Regions from separate parts of the Homo sapiens genome. Here region 2 is linked to region 1. Evidence: promoter capture Hi-C in 16 types of primary human blood cells and fetal thymus (Javierre and others, 2016). All regions are on one chromosome and are shown on one strand. The core of a region is centred on a gene start or on the middle of the fragment in contact, and the rest is flanking DNA. Distances in the headings are between cores, read along the strand shown. Region 1 holds the start of SMAD9 (SMAD family member 9). Region 2 overlaps CCDC169-SOHLH2 (CCDC169-SOHLH2 readthrough).

Region 1 (7,016 bases), core at 2,360-4,859:
CTTGAGGTGGGAGGAGTGTGGAGGCTATGATTCCTAGTTATTACTCTGAGTGGAACCATTATCATGCTAGCTCAAACTTAAGGTACAAGAGACGTACAAAGCAGAATCTTTGCATCCATGGATGACTACAGACTTTGTTACAATCTGTTATTTTTTTATTTTTTAATACTATTTTATGTATACTCACATGAAAAAATGGTTATACTATCATGTTTACATAATACTAATATTGGAAACAGAATTCAGTAACCAATTACATTTAAATTTTATAAAGAACACACAAACATTAAAACACTGATTAGTTATAGAAAGCAGAGTTTGAGGAAAAACCATTAGCTATAATTTTTATTTTCATTAAAGAGCAGCACCCTCTGAGAAGAATCAAACCAATCAGTAATATTCATCTATATCATAAAGTAATAAGTACAAAGGAAAGCTAGTGACTGTACTGATTTTATTGCTTTTACTAAGCCATTTTATGTTCCTCACACTCAATGAGAAGAAATAAAACATAATCTGAAGAAAAATATCTCATTATTATTCGCAATAAAAAATCTGCTTCATTCTGCAGGCCTGGGCAGATTGTACAATAGAGAGCACTTAATGGCTCAAATGGATCAATGTACCAGTTTGATTCTGATCCACGGAATAGAATCTCATCCATATTTGGTGGCTGGACTAACTCCATGGGTGCTGTGACAGACTGAACTATTTTTGTGGTATCCCCAGATCTCACTAAATAAGAAAAGACCCTACACCAGAAAATATAACAATCAATCCGTCCATAAATTTTATCTATATGCTTGCTCTTCAGTATAAGTTGGAAAAAGAGGCCCTTTCTTGAGGACATGGATAAAAGTATTATGGTCTAAAGATTGCTGGATCGATATTGTGTTGTTATAATAAAGATAAGGTACACATTGAAACCACTGTCTGATTAAGAAACTTCCACAACTTGTCTCAATTCTTCAAATAATGGAGTAAGTTTCTTTTCTAGGCTGACAATTAGTTCTGTATTGGCATTGCTGCTGGCTATGAAACTCACCACCAAAGGTAAATGATTTAACTGAATCACCAGGTAGGTGTAACAGTAACAGATGATACTTTTATTTTTTGAAAGTCCAAGTTTGCTCCCGTGGTCTGTTGCAAGGGCAAAAGTAGGTAAGAAACCAGGTCTCAAAGCATGCTCTGGAGCATTATCAATGGCCACTTTAATAACAGGTACTCCAACTCTGACACAACAATAGCATGGAGCCCTTCAACACTTTGTAACATTTGATACATGAATCGCTTTAGGTCATCCGCCATGATGAACCCCCTTCTCTTGCAGGATCAATCTCCTTGCCTGGGGTTTCTGGGCTGCCCGGTTCTCTCCACTGTCACTTCAGGAACAGCTTCAAAGACCACAGTCTGGTTTTATGCTGGGTATATGGCAAATGCAAAGAATTGGCTCTCTCTTGGGGTAAGGAAGCTGCCCTTCCTACCACTGTTTTATAGCCTGAGGGAGTTCGTGTTAGGCCAAGACCTTATCATCTTTCAGAAAACAGATTTCAGTTTTGCCGTGGTTTTGAGGTCCTGAACCAAAATTTCACTGGCGGTTCTACCAAATCACAACCTCTGAGTCTCTCCTTTCATATGATTCCCATAACAGAATGTTTTGGTGGAAGTTCTATTAAGCAGTAAAACCACAGCCAATCAAGAAATCACTGGGAAAGATAAAGCGAAGTCTAGCTTTCCATTAACCAGGACAGTCAGCTTCTGTAAAATGGAGTGTCAACACTGCGCCTTCTGTCTTAGGCCAAGCATTTTCTCCTTCTTGGAACTCACCAGATCTTATTGTTCTTGAGCGTAATGGATTAACTTTCTATACTAGCCTTGAGGAATACATGATAGGAATTATATCAGTGACAGACTAATGTTTAGGCAGGAAAAAGTCATCATCGTGCAGAAATATCCTGGTATGTAAATGAGAACGTACAGAAAAGAGCAGACTAGACATACTCTAAATCAAAGGCCTGCCAAGAGTCAAGAGAATTCTGCGAACTGAGAAAGACTCCATGCCAGAAGCATGAGCCAGCGCTGCAGAGGTTATAATTTCTTTCTCTGCATCTTGTCCTCTGCATTATGCTCATATACGAGAAGGAAACTGAGATAGTGATTGGGCCATTTCTTTTCTTAATTTAATTTTTAAAAACTTGAGCCACAAGGTATCAATTCTGAGGACCTAATTAGTTTACTGGCAATAAAGTCCACATCCAGCCTAATCCTTAATATATAATCTGTAGCCCTTACCGGTCCCGCTGTTTCCTGGTGTTTCTCACCCAGGACAATCTCAAACCCAACACATAGCCGGGTGCAGAGGTATCTGGGCCAGTGTAGAAAGAAGACTTTGAGGTTAAGGCATGGTATTTAAGGTTCTGCTGCAAATGTTGTTTTAAACAAATCACCGTTCAACTACAACGGTATAATAATGCAAAAATAGCATCTGCCATGAAGAAAGTGCAGTGCTTTGAGAACTAGAAAAAGCAGTTAAATTTAAGGCCTTGCTTTACATTTCGGAGCCGCCATCGGGGCCAACTGGAGGTATGACTTTCCTGCACACAGGAGCAAGCTGAAAACTGCCCTGTGGCTTTATTCCACGTTCACCCCTGCAGCAAATGCCTTTTCTGTGAGGAACTACGGGCTGATGGGGAATCAGAGGTGGTTCTTCCTAAGTGGCGTTTCTGAGTGGGTTCCAGGAGTCCACAGTGACTTTAAGAGGCAGGCTACCTGGGGGACAGCCAGGCCGTGAGACGAGAAAGTTGTACAGTAACATTGCTGTGTGCCCATAAGTTTGTATCTTTTATTAGATTAGATAATATATCTCACATGCTGGGTTGTTAAGCAAATAAATATGTGTAAGGAAATTACAATCCACATAATTACATGAGTCGTTTTAACCACCACTCACCCCCAGAGTGATTAGATTTTCTTCTGCCTATGCCATTGCGGCCCAGTTGCTCTGTCACTGTCCATGGGGACAGGATCCCCTTACTCCGAAAAGCAAATCAGGAACAAACAGGGCAAGTGAGAGTCACTATCAGGGCCCAGAAACATGTGAGGAACAGCAGCTCAGAAGGGTCTCCAGACTGATGGGCCGGTGATCCTATATTCTTGTTGGGCTGACAACTCTTCTGGTTTCGGGCTCCAGGTGCTGGCAAGAAATCTCAGAGGTGGGGTGGGAGAGAGAGACGCGAGGCGACCCACGCAGACAAAGGGCTCCCACCCCACCCCCGGGCCACCCCGGCAGGCCGGGCAGGGGCCGAGCCTGGGGTCGCGCAGGGGGACCGAGAGGGCAGCGCGGGGCTGGGGGTGGGGAAGAGGCGGGAACCGAGCCGCAGGCCGCTGCGAGGAGTACTACCCCGCCACCCCCGCGCCGCGAGTTTCCGCGCACGTGGCCGTGGGGCCGGTCTCGCTCCCGCCCCCCGCCGGGCCCGCGCAGCCCCCTCCTCTGCGGCTCCCGGAGCGGCCAGAGCGCGCGGCGGCGGGCGGGGGCGGGCCGCAAGCAGGGCTCCCTGGCCGCTTTCCAGGTCGGCGCACTAATACGGGCGATGAGGCTTCGCGGCTCCAGTCTGACTGACGCCGGCTGGGGCCGCCGCCGCCGCCGCCGCCGCCGCCGCTGCTGCAGCCGCTGTCTCGGTCCCCGCCGCCGCCGCCGGGCCCTGCAGGCGCTGGGCGCGCGCAGCCAGGCAGTGAGTGCGCGGCGCTCGGAGCGGGCGGCCGGGGGACCACGGCGGGGGCGGGGTTGGGGGCGCCGGACCTGGGTGGGGGAGGGATGAGTGGCACGGCGGGGACAGGTAAGACGTGCCCTCCTCGGCCGCGCGCTGCTTGTGTGCGTGCGTGTGAGCGCATTGAGTGGAGGGCGAAGTTGTTCGTCCTCGGGGCAGCCTGGGAGGCTCCTCGGCGTGAGGCTTGGCTTTTGGCGGTCGTTGTTCCCGGGTTTTTTGGTGGAGCCTGTCTGGGGTGGAGTGGGGTGGGGTGGGGTGGGCGCGGGGCCGGAGGGGACTGCTCTGGGGAGTTGGCCGCGGCGCAGCTCGCCTTCCTCGCGCCTGCATCCGCCCGCGCCGCGGGCCCCGGGACCTGTCAGGGGATGTTCGACCCGCGGCGGGGGCGGCGGTCGGGTCGGGGCTGGGGCCCGGGGCGTGGGCAGGGACCAGGATAGGCGCCTGAGGGGTCGCTTGCTGTAGCTGGAGATAGGGGACAGCGGACAGAGGGGGCGGCGGGGGTCGTCATTGTGACTCTTTGGGGGCCACTTTTAAACTCGCCAGCGCCGAATTGGCCTCACTTGCCTTCTGTTTCGTAGGCTTTTTGCTTTGTTTACCTTTGAGGCATGCGAACTGAGAAAAAAAGTTAGGAATGTTGTTGAAGTGTCTCCGGGCTCGCGCTTGGACTGTGTCGGAGCCGGGGTGTTTGTCTTTTCCTTGGCCCGCCCCTCGGTGCCAGCTCTCCGCAGAGGGGAGGGGGCGAGGTGGGAAGCAGATACAGGAGACTGCCTGACGCCAGCTTTGTGATCGGAAGGAGGAGCGCTGGGAGAACATTTTTATGGATGGCTAATCGCTGACAAGTTTTCCCGTTACTATTCCTTCCTCCTCCTGCCCTTGACCGTGGACATTTGAAGTGATAGTTTGGAAATACTACGTTGACTTATTTCTGGGCTGGAGTGGGTACTCCTGAGAACTAACCTACAAAGGATACAAATCGAGTTTGGAGATAAAATTGTATGTAAATTCTTTACCCAGTAGTTTACAGTGAGAAACACACCCACAGGGCACTGTGGAGTGCTTTGGATGGATCCAGTTTACTAGTACCATTTCGGTGGCTTGCCAGATTTCTCGGATGATCTTTTGGAAATGTAGGTTAGCAAGAAGCATGGAGGCTGACCGTTAAGTCGTGAGGCATTTAATAATGCTGCCTCCTAAGCAGTAACTGAGCGGAACGTTTGTGGCACCCGTCTGGGAAAGTGAAATGTGACTACTACAAGCATGTCTCCTGCCTTAGCATTCCTCCAAGTGTGAGGGAATGCCTTTGGATGTTTACATTTTAAAAATAGTGATCTATATTTAAGAAGGCATTTAAAATAAAAGCCAAAGACATTCTCAACTCCAAATAGACAAAGATTCAATATAAGAGTTTCCCTGTGCTTGTAGGAAAGCATCAGCACAATTTTAGACTGCTTTTAGGTTTGTGGTTATCCAAGAAGGAGGCTTCAGATAAGAAAAGGATGTGACGCTTTATAAATAAGGAGCATTTTAAATACAAGATGACAGCAATTTCAAGTACTGTATCCGAAAAACAACTTTTAGTGGTAATAGTCACCTTCAGTGATGGCAAGACAGCTGTCTGCCAGACAGCCTTCGGCCTCTTAATGTATTCTGACACAACCAACTCCCATTTTTATGCTTGACTGGTTATCTTTGTCAGAGCTGTTTTATGCTTGAGCTCTCTGGTTTCAAACTATGCTTAAGAGAATGCCAACATACTCTTGATCTGAACAAACTCATGTTTATCAGTGCAGTGTTTACTAAAAATCAAAGACGTAAACAAATTTTGGGTTAAACCTCTAAGTACTTTAGAATTGCCACATCATTGTCATCAGTCTTTCAAAGTCAACATGAACTATTTGGCTTTTCTCCTTTAAAAAATTTTTTTAACTTATATATTCCTAGTTAGTAAGTAATCAGAAAATATTCACAGATGTCAACTCTTGCATCTGTGATTGCCCAAGACATGGATGAGAAAGAAGAGTTTTGTTTTGTTTTTTAAATGAAACATTACTAAAGATATCCATAAGTAATAAACAAGTGGTACACTATCTTTACTAATCATGTGGTCAGTTGGAGGGAAAAAAGTCTGTCCAGAAATTGTTTCATAAAGATGAAAATATTCAATGTCAATATGAAAATACTCAATATGTTTTCCAAATAGTTTAATTCTGATTAATGAGAGTGCACTATGCATTGCCAAACTGGAGGGATGGTGTTTCGTAAGTGAGCACCGTAGGATTAAGGTAACTACTTTATATCTGACATTCCCTCTGTAATAAATAGGACAGCAGTTTCATCATGTTCTGCTTTAATATGTGGGAAATAATCCTTATCCACAGGATGTACTCTGATTTTAGGGAAGGTAAAGGTTATGACAAATATGTGGTTTTTCTGATTTGCCAGACATACTATGCTAAATTTTAAAGCTTTAACGAAGCTTAGTGCAGACTTTCTGTATATTGTTTTGGACACTTAGAGAGGAGTTAAAGAAACGGGAAACTGTCCAGAATGAAACAGTAAATATAGCAGTACGTTGAAACCATGAATCTTCTCAAATAGTTGTAATTCTAGGCTGTTGGATTTATATTTCCTTGGTTACTGTTGCTAGTGGGTTGAAAAGTTATTCTAAAGCAAAAAAAAAAAATGCAAACAGTAAATGCATAAGTACTTAACAATACTGTGAGCATTTTCACAATGTTTCATGTTATCCTGGTGAATGTCCATGTCCTAAGTAAGGACATTAAAAAAATAAACAATTATCCCTTGGTAATAAACTAACCTTTTAAAATAAATATTCCGGTAAATTTTGTCTCTTAAGAAACTTGTGTCAACTAAAGTTGTTAGGATTTCAAGATATCTGTTAGCATTAGGAGTCATTATACCCATGAAAACTGGATGTTCTTCTTGCTTGGTGGTCTTCATCCTGACACTTCCTACCCCAAAACCATGACGGACACCTCGGCCGCACTTGCCTGACTTGTATTCTGCTCTCCTTTGGTGTCGGCTTCCTTTTGTGTTAGGCTGACCCAAGACCACTTTTCCAGGCTTATCTTCCCGGTCTTTCCCTATTTTATGCTGCAGTTAAAATAGCAAATGCTAGTTTCCATGCATACCCTGGCTTTCCTCTCCTGTGCACCTTTACCCCACGCTGAGGCCTTCCCAGCTTCCCCACCTCCCACAGGATCCTCAAATATGACTTCTTCATCTTGTATG
Region 2 (7,016 bases), core at 1,675-4,174, 640 kb after region 1:
GTGCCAAAAATAAATTGCATTTTTAATTTTTTGGTAACCATTCTCATCTTGCTCTGAAGAATCCGTTACCATGTTAGGAAAGGGGATACCATGACAAAGGGAGACTTTAGGTAGCAAGTTATAAAGATGATTCCATACAGTTGAGCTCTACTGTATCTTTTGGGTAAATGTTTAGTCTTTCAGGGCTTCTCCTTTCTTCTTGTACCTTTCCAAAGCTTTTGGGTTAATGACTTTCAGTTTCAGTATGGGAGGGGGTTCCATCCCCTTTGGTAGACCGCATTTGCATAGAGATGAGGGTGTAAGGGAGACCTGTGTCAGGGCTGAGGAGGTTGGTAGTGGTATGTGCTAATACTCTTTCTCCTTAACTCTTCCACTAACTGTTATGTAGCAGCAGTTATTTCAGACCTGTGAAGAGCATTTAAAGTTGAAAAAGAAGCCATCTTTTTGCCCTCTACAAAGCCTGACTTTAAAGACTCGAAAAAGTTAGCTTTGGGCTTTGAATCTGAACAAAGACCTTTTAATTTTAGGCTGTATTCTTCTTTTTCCCCAGACATAAGGAAAATGCTTTGACTTTAATAGCTAAAAGGGTTTAGTGAAAGAAAACTGCTTAAGGTTAAGAGAAAATGCCTGAGAAGATAGCTAAATGTACATTGTTCCTTCAGCTTAGGAGTTAAGAGGATATGATTTCAAAGGCAGATAAAACTGGATTAAAAACCCGGTTCCCTTATTTATTAGCTCTGTCATCTTAAGAATGTTATTTGACATTGACATCTTTGAGCCTTGGTTTCCTCATCTTTGTAAAATAGGTGACTACATTTCTAAAATGAGGATTAAATTACTTAATGTATGTGAAGCATTGTGTGCTTTACACACGGCAGACACGTAAGTGATAGTTATTCAGCAGACTTCAGAATTGCTTTCAAAGGAAAAAAAATGAACATGACATTGGATAGGTTAGTAATGTTTAGGATATTTTATATACACATAAACATATATAAAATGTATAAATATATAAATATGTATTTCAAGTTTCCTTGGAACTTGAAATATATATATTTATGGATATGTATATGAAATATCATATATGAAATATATGGATATTATATATATGGGTATTTCAAGTTCCAAGGAAAGAAACATGTCCTGATATTCCCTCTAATTGAATTCATTGTAAGGATGCACAAGAAGTAAAAGAAAAAAGCAGGTGGGAAGTAGGGAAGAAGAGGAATTGCAGTAGTTGTGATAAGGTTTGGCTGTTTGGTAGCCTGAGTGTGAGTCTAATTCTTGCAGTCTGGAAAATCTTACTAACAGAAATACAGACTTAATAACTATTTCCTTCTAGTTGATCTGTATTGCCAATAAAGTCAAATATAGTAATAGAGTAAGATCAAGCTCATAATGTTATTTTAATGAATAAATGAGAGGTGGTGGGGTGATCTTGATTGTTTCTCCCTGTTTTTACTCAGGTAGTGAATGGAAAACCCGTTATGAGACACAACTTGAATTAAATGATGAACTAGAAAAGCAAATTGTTTATCTCAAGGAGAAAGTGGAAAAAATCCATGGAAACTCTTCAGGTACAAAACCAATCATATGTACATTTTATAATTTGAGTTAAAACTGATAAAACATTAAGTGCTCATATTTGATTTATTGTAGATAGACTATCTTCTATTCGTGTCTATGAACGAATGCCAGTGGTGAGTAGAAATGTGATTAAACACAAAGAATAATTGAAGGAAATTATGTCTATTTTTTCCAGACGTATTTCAAAGAGAAGTTTGAAGACTAGCGCAAGGTCCAAATAAACTGTTTTGTTCAAGGGATCTGTTTGAAGGACAACAAATAATTTTTGAGTAGCTATAGGTGGAGCACTAAGTTGCCAGCTATATTCACAGGTGTCCTGAAGAGCAGAGCATGTATAGATATTGCTTTTTGAATCACCGCCAACCTTCAGAGAAAGATATAGACAAATACTGTGTTTTTGCTAATAATGAATTGAGGAGAAATAAGTCCTTTTGCACGCTTGTTACTTTCAACCCAGACATGCCTTTATTTCCATATCTTGGAAAGTCAGGAATTTTTCTAACTCGAAAAATTGTTTTCCCATGTGCTGTCATAGAGTTATATCGCCCTCTTGTGGCATTTAGAAATAGTTGCTAGGGCTATGTTAAGCTTAGTGCCTTTTCTTAATTGCAGGTAGAATTTTATTACTACCTACTGGATATAAAATATTCTGTCTACCTGCTTCTTGATAACTGAGGCTCAGTCCTAGCTCAACAGAGTGGGTATCACCACCCTTGTGGAGAGTAGCAACAAGTGCTGGTATGACTTAGTAAAATACCTTAGGGCATATCTAAGGAGCGTTTAATTGGTTTTCTAACTACTACCTGAGACTCTGGAACATATTCATGTTGGAAAAAATACATTTATTTTCCTTGATGTATTTGTGTTATTTTTGAAGAAAATGTGGTTCTCTAAGAGATTTAATAATTTAGATCCAGAGACAGAGAATTATATTTCTCCACAGTAAAGGACTGAAGAAATATTAGCACAACGAAGAGTGGGACCACAGACCAAGCAGAAAGGAAAGAGAATGAAAGTTCAGTATAAACAGAACTGGTCCTCTCTATTCTCTGGACAGGTGCTTTCATGAGTGTTTGGTACTCATGAATCCAAGAGGGGTGTGTCTGAGCAGCAGAGATTAGAAATCTAATCAAGGAGTCAGCGATAGAAGTGTCCAATTACTAAGCAAAAAGCATTGGGATCCAACAATCCTATATCCAGTCAAGAGACCCTCTTAGCTAAGGACAAAACTAAGTCTTATTCTTTGATATAAAGAATAATATTTGTGAAATTCAGACATATAATTGTGTAATGCAGACATATTTTTGGCTTCCTGTTAAATTGACAATTAGGGAAAAGGGCTTAAATTAGTTGCTTTTGTGGGATAGAGTATGAATTCAAATACCATCTGTAAATTTCCCGATTCTTTATCCTTGTTGTGGATTGTTTAGTGTTTAGGAGTAATCTGTACAGACATACTTATGAAATTGATGTGTTAGTTTGAATACTAATTTTGAATAATTTCAAACTACAGATTTGCTTATGAGTAGCAAAAGGATGGGCACTCGTTGTTGACTAGTATATGTGTAATATTTTATATGTTATTTGACAAAAATGTATAAAATGTTATCTTTAAACTATATCATTAAAGTGGACTTCATTTTAATATAATTTTATCTCTCTTTTATTGTGGTAAATATACATAACTTAAAATTTACCATTCAGCATTTCTTTTTTTTTTGAGGGAGGGTCTCACTCTGTCACCCAGGCTGGAGTGTAGTGGTTCAATCTTGGCTCACTACAGCCTTTGCCTGCTGAGCTCAAGCAGTCCTCTCACCTCAGCCTCCTGAATAGCTGGGACTACAGGCTCATGCCACCATGCCTGGCTAATTATTGTATTTTTAGTAGAGACGAGGTTTCACCGTGTGTCCCAGGCTGGTCTCGAACTCCTGAGCTCAAGCAATCCACCTGCCTCGCCTCCCAAAGTGCTGGGATGACAGGTATAAGTCACCACACCCCGCCTGTTTCAGCCATTTTGAAATGTAAAGTTCAGTGTGATTTTAATATTTTAGAAAAAATTATTCACATAAGTGAGAGTGAAGCTTTAGTCTTTGTTCTGATAATAGGTTGGTGCCTCCAACTTTTTTTTTTCTTGAGGTTCACTTTTCTCCTCTGAAGGTAAGATACGTTATATTATCTTCTAAGTGTCTTTCAGTGGGGTAATTTATTAAAATTTTATTTTAGCATGATGTATCAAGGGTTGCATTTGGCAGAATGTAAGAGAAAGGTTTAAACAAGTAAAGTTTTTTTTTTCTCTTTTCTTTTTTTTCCTCATGTGACAGAAAGTATGAGGTTTGCAGTCCAGGGGTGGTGCAGTGGCTGTATAATGCCTTCAGGAATCCAGGCTTCCCCTAAGTTTCTACTCTGCCATCCATTTGTGAGTGGCTTTTGTCCTCGTGTTTAAAGATGGCTGCTTCGCCTTCTCAGCTGCTTCACGTTATCATTCAAAAAAAGACATAGGTGAAGGAGAAATGGTAAAGGTGAAAGCCGGTCACGTCTACTCCCCTTCAAAGAGCTTTCTAAGATGCTGCACCCAGTAATTCCCCTTGACATTTCATTGGGAGTTAGAACTGTATCATATGGGCACCTTCGTGTGCATGACAGGCTAGGAAATATAGTGTTTTACTGAATATACAGGAAGAAGAGAAGAGTGGATTGTGAGCGTACAGTTGGCTGTATCTGCCACACACAAAGTCATTTAAAGTGAAGGCATTTCATTTTATGTATTCATTCAATTCATTCATACATATTCGTTCAACATGTATTCAGCTGATATTATTTGGAAAATAAAAGGTATAGAAAAAGAATATCATAAAATCAAACATATCCACTGTAGACAGTTCTGTTTTTAGTAATTTTTGTATGCATACATATTGATTAAAAAGAACAACCAAATAAATAAGTCAGCCAACAAACAAAGTGAAAAAGGATTACAGCTAGTTTTTATTGTTGTTTAAAATATAATTATAACCTTACCGCATGGACAGTTTTGAATCCTATGCTAATTGGGGTAATTAAGTCAATTATTTCATATGTTATGTTCTCTTCATGTGCATTTTTCAATGATATATTATGTTCCATTGTGTTGGAATGTGAATGTTCAATTACTTTTCCCTATAACTGGGTATTTTAGGTTGTTTCTGGTTTTAATTTTGAGTTGAAACCCACAGAGTGTATTATGGCAAACAACTCCATATTCTAGTATTTATAAATCTTCAGATCTTTGTCCCTTTTTGACTTTAAATGTTTTAATGAAAACAATTTATAGAGTTGAGATCCCTTTTATTCTCCTCCCTGTCTTCTTTTTGTTTCCTTTTTATAGGCAAGGACTACCATGAATTTGGTATATATTATTTCAGTTTATTTTTAATATCTCTCTACATGTTGTATGTATAAAAATGCATATAAAAAGTATCATACTGTGCATATCATTCTTTTACTCATTATTTAATTCCATTCATGTTAATAAAGATCTAGTAAATTTTATCAGTTGTATAGTATTTCATTATATGTGTATATCCTTAGTATATTTACGTACATCATGAATTACGTAAATTAGCCTATTTACGTACATCATGAATTTTTCAAAATCTCACTATGACAAGCATTGCCACAGTGAATATCTTTATATGTGTCTTTCAGTGCAAAGTGTTCCTCTAGGCTTAGCAAACTTTTCTGTAGATGGATAAATAGTAAATATTTTCAGCATTGCAGTTGTATGATCTCTGATCTTTGTTGTAGCTATTCAACCCTGCTGCTGTAGTATAAAGGGAGCCATAGACAACACCTAATTGGTGGGCTGTATTCTAAAAAATCTTGGTTTACAAAAACAGGCAGAAGCTGAATTTGATCTTTAGGTTATAGTTTGCCAGCCTCTGCTTTAAGGCAGTGATCCATAAACTTTGGTAGGTTATGGAATCACCTAGGGCACTTCATAAAAATACAAAGGCCAAGTCCTGTCCTTCAACCTACTTGCCACCTCTATATTTTTATTAACTCTTCAGGTAATTCTAATAAAAAAGTTTGAGAACCACTGCTTCAAGTATACATGTTCTTAGAAGTGGAATTTTAAAATCATAAGATAGGTAGATTTTCAAATTATTATAAAGTATTTCTGGGTCAGTCTGTCTAAAGACACCCCAGCTCTACAGTTAGTTCAGTATGTCTGGAATAAATAAGAGGGATGATGAGCGATGAAGCTGGAAATAATATGCAGGGGCTAAATAATAAAGGGTTTGGTATTCATGGTAGGGAGTGTGAATTTTTTTTGTATATGATAAGAAGCTATTGAAATATTTTATATAGAGGTTGAAAGATCCTCCCACCCCCACCCCAACCACCATGAAGAAAGGATTCCTCAGGGTGGGTTAGAATTGAATCAGAGAAACCAGCTAGGATGCTTTTGTCGTAGTCTAGGTAAGGGAAGGTGGGTTTTTTTTTAGCTTGGGCAGTATTATATGGGGATGGAGCAGAGGAGACAGATTAAAGATCTATTTAGGAATGAGGATTTCATGAATACTTAGATATTGGGTAAGACTGCAAGAGAATTTAATGACAATTGAGAGTTTTGGCTTGAATAACTTCATGGATTACAATGAACAGGATAATAGAAATTGAAATTAGGATGTTAGGAAATGGTAAGTTTAGTTTTGTTTGTGTGTATTACACAGGTGATAGTGGTTTGGAAGCAACTGAAAATAGTTTTGGATTATGGAAAGTTGCTTCTCTGAAAACAGAGATCACCAAGTCATAAGTGTCACATGCAGTCATGAAACTACAAGGGATTGCTCAGGAAAAATATGCAGTCTGAAAAATAGAATTGAGGTTGAAACCCTGGGGAATGCTGACATTTAAAGTGTTAGGAGGCAATTTAGGGAATATTATTGAGAAGGAAAAATATTGAGAAAGGATGGGGGGACAACTGGAAGAATGGTATCACAGAAGTCAAGAAGGGGAAGGCTTTATGAATGTTCAGGAAAAGAATGTTCTAGAAAATTCTGCTGTAGGAGAGGATAAAACACGTTGTCCAGAGTTCAGGCAAATTATTCAAAAGCGAAGAAAGAAGTGCCAATTAGAGGCTAGGACATAGGAGAAAATGTGATGTGGTGTGTAGTGGAAGAGTAGGGGTGAGAAAATGTACTGAGTATAACCTATTTTCCCTCGAAACGTAGGTTTTGGAATCAGACCATCATGGCTCAAATTCAGACTATGGGACACTGAGGAAGTTATTTCATCTCTCTGAGGCTTAATTTCCTCATCTGTGAAATTGAGTTAATTAAACTCTCATGCAGGGTTACTGTGAAGATTATTAGAGATAGATAAAACAAATAACATAGTGCCTGACATAGTAAGCTCTGTTAGTTCCTGTTCTGTTTTCCCTTGATAAAGGA

Evidence for each region. Contacts are between HindIII fragments. The CHiCAGO score rates a contact against its expected background, and 5 or more counts as called.
Region 2: a contact is called between a fragment that was not itself captured here and the fragment with the promoter of SMAD9 in region 1, in 1 of 17 cell types (M0 macrophages). The highest score is 5.5, in M0 macrophages.

The regions. Positions count from the first base shown.
Region 1 is chr13:36,916,831-36,923,846 of GRCh38, reverse strand. SMAD9 (SMAD family member 9) reads left to right here and starts at 3,609. Exons shown (of 7, transcript NM_001127217.3): 1 at 3,609-3,731. It also overlaps the pseudogene LAMTOR3P1. RefSeq lists silencers at 3,469-3,518, 3,629-3,698. The HindIII fragment of the contact is 8,984 bases long and covers 1-6,231 here.
Region 2 is chr13:36,278,153-36,285,168 of GRCh38, reverse strand. CCDC169-SOHLH2 (CCDC169-SOHLH2 readthrough) reads left to right here. Exons shown (of 16, transcript NM_001198910.2): 2 at 1,467-1,577. The coding sequence starts at 1,563. CCDC169 (coiled-coil domain containing 169) reads left to right here. Exons shown (of 8, transcript NM_001144981.3): 3 at 1,467-1,577; 4 at 1,660-1,700. Among named protein-coding and RNA genes, the nearest start is that of CCDC169, 16 kb to the left of the region's middle. The HindIII fragment of the contact is 1,493 bases long and covers 2,178-3,670 here.